Regions from separate parts of the Homo sapiens genome. Here region 2 is linked to region 1. The links are contacts of gene promoters, found by promoter capture Hi-C in human tissues and cell types (Jung and others, 2019). All regions are on one chromosome and are shown on one strand. Each heading gives the region's core, a stretch centred on a gene start or on the middle of the fragment in contact. The rest is flanking DNA. Distances are from core to core; before and after follow the strand shown. Region 1 holds the start of TM4SF1 (transmembrane 4 L six family member 1). Region 2 has its middle 33 kb from the start of TM4SF1-AS1.

The links. Contacts are between HindIII fragments. The study calls those that stand out against the background at their distance.
Region 2: a contact is called between a fragment that was not itself captured here and the fragment with the promoter of TM4SF1 in region 1, in 1 of the 25 tissues and cell types used here (aorta).

Annotation. Positions count from the first base shown.
Region 1 is chr3:149,376,235-149,379,727 of GRCh38, forward strand. It overlaps TM4SF1 (transmembrane 4 L six family member 1), which reads right to left and starts at 1,415. Exons shown (of 5, transcript NM_014220.3): 1 at 1,137-1,415. The coding sequence starts at 1,313. It overlaps TM4SF1-AS1 (TM4SF1 antisense RNA 1), which reads left to right and starts at 1,544. Exons shown (of 2, transcript NR_109810.1): 1 at 1,544-2,081. The HindIII fragment of the contact is 5,365 bases long and covers 1-3,338 here.
Region 2 is chr3:149,409,523-149,412,649 of GRCh38, forward strand. No RefSeq gene overlaps it. Among named protein-coding and RNA genes, the nearest start is that of TM4SF1-AS1, 33 kb to the left of the region's middle. The HindIII fragment of the contact is 3,524 bases long and covers 79-3,127 here.

The DNA of each region.
Region 1 (3,493 bases), core at 165-2,664:
ACAAATGCATAGTTTTAACTTAACAATATTAAGCTCTTAAAATATAGTAAATATGAAATACTTCAGGTTCAAGATCGAAAGAAACTTAAGTGTGATGTTATGTTTAAGACAAATAATCATGTTAACATGATAATAATGCTTAAATTTGAGGCAGACGGGCACTGTGGCTCATGCCTGTAATCCCAGCACTTTGGGAGGCCAAGGTAGGAGGGTCACTTGGGCCCATGAGTTCAAGACCAGCCTGGGCAACATGGCGAAACCCCGTCTCATTAAATAAAATAAAATTAAATAAAATCTCATTAAATAAATAATTTAGGGCAGATTTGCCATGCCATAATCAGTGTATTAGGTTTAAATGTTTTACTATCTTTTACTTGATTAAGAAAATTTATCACGTATGGTACCATTCCATAAAATTTCTCCTTAAAATTTTTAATCCCAGCACTTTAAAGTAGCAAACTTAAGTTTGCTCACATTCTTTCCATGCTGTGGTTGAAGCTAATGCTTTCAGCTCCCAGGTTGGCAGGGAAATTCCTCTCACTTCAATCAAAAACAATTCTTGGAAAAAATAACACATTCCACTATTAGCTTCAGACACCGACCTGCTGCTAACTGTAGGGTTTTTCCTAGACGCCACACCCCAGCCTTACATAAAGGAGAAAGCTTAGAGTTCTTTTAAAATAGCAATGCACTCACAATTCATTATTTTTCCCTATCACAGATGGCTGAAAATAAACAGCAGAGAATTTGGATTCAAAACTGTTGATTTAGGCAGAGAACCAGCCAACCCCTTCCGGCTCCCCAGAGCAAATGTTAAATGACTGCCCGTTCTAGTAGAAACTCTATAGTCTCTCAAATCTGATTTAAAAGCGAATATCTGTTTCCTACCTATAGAGTTTAGCAAAAAGGCAGTTCACTTTTAGTTGAAAGAGCATTTTGTAAAACAACATCTCATAAAATTACTACGCTATACTGTACCAATCTCGCTTTTGTATAATCTGCTTTCAAAGGAATGAACAGCAACAAAAAAGTCACTTGATTTAGAAATATGCATTACAAAAAACTTTCCATGAAAATACATAATGAAAACATCTAGGAAACAGGAGAGAATTCAGTAATAATCCTGAATGACTTACCAGCAGGCCACCTCCTACGATGCCAGAAAAGAACCACACGAAGCGGCTGAGGTGGTTTTCGGAGGCATACTTTGTTTCCCCATTGGGAAAGTAAAGCAAAATATTAGCCGCGATGCACAGGAGGGCGAGCCCCACCAGAGAATGTCCGATGCATCGTGCACACTTCCCATAGCACATGGTGGTCTGCTAGGTTTTCTCCCCCTTCTCTTTGTCTTCAGCTCAGTGATACCCCAAATTAGATGAAAGTGTGCCCTTCTGGTGGAGAAAGCAAACACCACTCTCAGCCCATTCCTGCTACCTCTTAAATACTGCGATTCTTAGTCACTGAGGGGATGAGGTACTTTGCTTTCATTGGTCCTAATGGCAGGCTCTGGCTGTGGTGCGAAGAGGCAGGGGGAATGTCCCGCCCTTCAGACGAAATCCTTGGGACAGGCAAAACCAGGGGCAGGATGTGAGAAACAGCCTCAGTCATAGGCAACAGGGAAAATGATTAATCTTGAACAAGGCATTGACTGTGCAACTCCTCCACAAGATAAAGAATCAACAGGAAAGCCTAACATGACTTTCCAGTAACTGCCAAGTGTCCGAGATGCAACAGCCCTGGTTGAGGCTTTGAAAGACAGTGAGCTGTGCCCCTGCTCCATGCAGCTGTCTGGACAGCTTCCAATCTGAGAGCTCTGTGTTCATTTCTACCTTTGTGCTGATTTAATTTACAACCTGGGGCAAATCTCCTGAGCTCATTTCCTTGTCTATTAAATACAAGGTGTCTGAGACGTCTCCCATGGATTTGAGAAGGCTGTTGGGAAAACTACAGAGCAAACTTCTTTACTCTGCCTACAGCAAGCTCTGCAGGATGGATTTCAGTGTTCAGCGTCCCTGGACATCTGCCTCTAAAACAAATCTGCACCACAACAGAGGTGGCATCAGTCAACACAAAGGGCTCAGGTGCTTTTTAAAAATTATTGAGTGTTGCTGTCAGGAAAAGCAATGCCAGGAAGGGCCAAGGAAGGCCTAAAGCATGGGACAAAAATAAAAAGAGGAAGAAGAGAGGGGGAGGAAGAGAATGGGAGAGAAGGAAAGAGGAAAGGAGGAAGGAAGAGAGGAAGGAAAGAAGAGAAGGAGGGAGAGAAGGAGAGAGGGAAAAAGGGAGGAAGGGAGGGAGGGAGGAAGGAAGGAAGGAAAAAAGGAAGGAAGGATGGGGGGAGGGAAGGAAGGAGGGAGAGGGAGAAAAAAATAAGACAAAGGGACTTGGCAAGCAGAGTGGAGAAACAAGGTTCAGAGAAACAGAACTGGCTAGGAGTGTCAGAACCCACACAGAGGTAAACAGATGGTTTACCCAGCCAGATCCTGAGACCAGCTTCCACAGGCTCCCCACACAGGGCAGAGAAAGGGTGTTAGACTAACTTTCTAGGTGGTTACCTTGCAGAAGGAGGGGCTGGGCACTGAATAAATTTATGCCTTGAACAGCAGATTGCACCAGCCAGTGGATGGTGGTGGGAGGTGGACAGGGTGGCCGGGTGGGGCCAGGCCTGGAGGGCCTTGTCACCAGGACAAGATAGAGAGTACAGAAAATAGAAAAGGACCAAGGTAGGGAGGCATTAGCTTAGAAGAAGAAGGTGAATGAGGTTCACGAATCTAGAGTCTGAAGGATTTGGCCCGGAACTAGAGGGCGGGACACATACCAAATTTGAGGAGACCAGCTGTGGTTAGTGATGTGGCATGGGACCGGAGGAGGGCCCAAGAAGTGTGGCCTCAGCACACTAACAGGGGTGAAGCCAGAATCCAGGATGGCCTGAGGAAATAAATCAGTGGAGTTGGGAAGCGTGGAACCACCCACCTGCTCAGGCGGAGGCAGGCAAATCCTCATAAGAGTGTCATTGGGTCACCACTATGTGTCCAACAACAGGGAACGTGTGTTTGGCCCGATGGCTTAGAGACAGGATTCCACTGGTGACAGAGCCTATGGGTGAATGACGGCATCCTTTGTTGAAGCATAATCATTGCAACCCTCCTGTCTGCTGATCTATCCCACCTGGGGCCAAAATGGGGGAAAGTGATGCTTAAACTACTGATATGGTTAGGCTTTGTGTCCCCACCCAAATCTCATCTTGAATTGTAATCCCCATAATCCTCACGTGTCAAGTGAGAGACTGGGGGGAGGGAACTGAATCATGGCAGCAGTTTCCCCCATGCTGTTCTTGTGATAGTGAGTGAGTTCTCATGAGATCTGACAGTTTTATACGGAGCTCTTCCCCCTTCTCTTGATGATTGTCTTTCCTGTTGCCTTGTAAAGAAGGTGTCTTGCGGCCAGGCGCAGTGGCTCACGCCTGTAATCCCAGCACTTTGGGAGGCCGAGG
Region 2 (3,127 bases), core at 591-3,090, 34 kb after region 1:
CTTGGAGATATCGCAGGTTCAGTTCCAGACCACCACAATAAATTGAATATTGTGATAAGCAAGTCACATAAATTTTCTGGCTTCCTAGTGTATGTAAAAGTTATGTTACATGCCAGGCATGGTGGCATGCACCAGCTACTTGGGAGGCTAAATTGGGGGTATCACTTGAGCCCAGGAGTTTGAGACCAGCCTTGGCAACATAGTGAGACCCTGTCTCTACAAAAAATTTAAAAAATTATTTGCCAGGCATGGTGATGCATTCCGGTAGTCTCAGCTATAGGCTGAGATGGGAGGATTTCTGGGCCCAGGAGGTCAAGGCTACAGTGAGCCATGATCATGCCACTGCACTCCAGCCTGGATGACATAATGAGACCCTGTCTCCAATAATAAAATACCAGTCATCTGAGCCTTCATCGAGTCATAATCCTTTTGCTGGGGGAGGGTCTTCCTACCTGTAAGAAGCAAATCCTCATCTGTTCAAGTTTGATCATGAGATTGAGCCACTTAGTCTCATCTTCAGGCTCTACTTCTAGTTCTAGTTTTCTTGCTATTTCCACCACCTCTGCAGTTACTTCCTGCCTGAAGTCTTGAACCCCTTAAATTCATCCACGAAGGTTGGAATTAACTTCTTCCAAACTCCTGTTAATGTTGATATTTCTACATCCTCCCATGGATCACAAATTTTCTTGATGACATCTAGAATAATGAATTTTTCCCAGAAGGTTTTCAATTTACTTTGCCCAGATCCATCAGGGGAATCACTATATATGACAGTTTATGAAATGTGTTTTTGTATAATAAGACTTGAAAGCCAAAAAATTATTACTTGATCCATATGCTGCAGAATAAATGCTAGACTTTCAGAGGGCAAATGAGAATTGGCTTCATCTTAAAGTCACCAGTTGCATTAGCCCCTAACAAGGGAGTCAGCCTGTCCTTTGAAGCTTTAAAGCCAGGCATAGACTTCTCTTCCTCTCTAGCTACAAAAGCCTTAGAAGATATCTTCTTCCAATGGAAGAAGATCTGTTTTACTTACATTGAAAATCTGTTGTTCATTGTAGCCACCATCATCAATGATCATAGCTAGATCTTCTGGCTAACTGACTGCAGCTTCTACATCAGCACTTGCTGCTTCACCCTGTACTTTTATGTTATGGAGATACAACTTCTTTCCTTAAACCTCATGAATCAACCTCTGCTAGCTTCAAACTTTTCTCATGGAGCTTCATCACGTCTTTCTGCTTTCATAGAATTGAAGAGAGCTGGGGCCTTTCTCTTGATTAAGCTTCGGCTTAAGGGAATGTTGTGGCTGGTTTGATCTTCTATCCATACCACTCCAACTTTCTCCATATCAACGAGAAGGGTGTTTCACTTTCTTATCATTCATGTGTTCCCTGGAAGTAATTTTCTTCAAGAACTTTTCCTTTGCGTTCACAATGTGGCTAAGTTTTTGGCTCAAGAGGCCTAGCTTCTGGCCTGTCTTGGCTTTCCATATGCCTTCGTCACTAAGCTTAATAATTTCTAGCTTTTGCTTTAAAGTGCGATGTGAGACTCTTCCTTTCACCTGAACACTTAGAAACCATTGTAGGGTTATTAATTGGCCCAATTTCAATATTCTTGTGTCCCAGAAAATAGGGTGGCCCAAGGAGAGGGAGAGAGATGGGGAAAGGCTTGTTGGTGGAGCTGTCAGAACACACATAGCATTTATTGATTAAGTTCAATGTCTTATATGGGCATGGTTTGTGGCACCTCAAAACAATTATAATAGTAACATCAAAGATCACTGACCATAGATCACCATGACAGATATAATAATAAGGAAAAAGTTTGAAATACTAATAATAAGGAAAAAGTTAGAATTACTAAAACGTGGCACAGAGACATGATGTGAGCACATGCTGTTGGAAAAATGGCACCAATAGACCAATGCAGGGTTGCCACAAACCTTCAATTTGTAAAAACCATAACACACAGCTCAATAAAGTAAAGCACAACAAAACAAGGTATGCCTGTACTCAGTCATGAGCAGTTAGGGACAGATAACTCCTGGTCTCAGGTAGTGGTAAAAGAGATATTCTATGCTGCTGGCCCTGCCAGACAGTCTATCAGCTTGTGCCACTCTCTATAAATGCACAAAGTCAGCAAGTCACTAAGTTGGTGGAAAACGTGGGAAATTATGGGTTAGGTACATATAAAGTATGTACAGAAGACAGAAGACAAGAAGTCCTGCCATAGAACTTACTGTGTAGTCTGAATGCTGCAATTGTTTTGCCATTTATTGAATTGAATGGCATAAATCCAAATAAATCCATGACTATTTTGTTGTTCTGCAATGCTTTTTTATTTTACAATAAACCCTTTCAATAGCAGTGACCTCAAGGAAATGAAAACATGAGTTTAGTACAAAATCAAGTACAGAATTGCCATTTCTCAAGAAAGTAAATGATTAAAGTGAAACTTGCACAAAATGTAGACATTTGCCATCCACCGTGGGACCCATTGTGATATCACTGACCACTTGAAAACAAGGAAATACAAATCTGCTGAAAAATCATCAGGGTCTACTTCGAAAGTTAATGGTAAATTTAAGAAGACGCATGTTGAATGTGACAACAGTTGAGCAGGTGCAGCTTCAGAAGGTGCATTTATACAACCTCTTTTAAAGCATAACTTTTCATTTAGGTTAAATGATCGTTTATCTATTTTAATTTTGTTCTTTTAAAATCCCGTTTCCTCATGTACATACACTTGTAAAGTGTTAGTGAAAAATGATAGCGGATAATTAGCATAAGAAGAACTTGCCAAAATGGCCTCAATTTTGTATCAATGTCATCTGGTGATTCAAGTAAAAATCTAGTTAACTCTGATGACAGTTGAAGGCTCTCATCCAATTCAGGGAATCAAAGTAAAACTTTTAGGATTTTCTTTTGTTGAAAGTGAAACATCTGAGATTATTGCGAATGCTATTGTAAATTCTGTTACAGAGTACAGCATTGAGGATTAAATGATTTGTTTTTGCATCCATAATATGCTTACAAATTCTGGCGATGTACACCATTGTGGAAAAAATAATGCTCTTACTAAATTAAACTTGTAGAGCAAAAATGTACTTGGAATTGATTGCCAT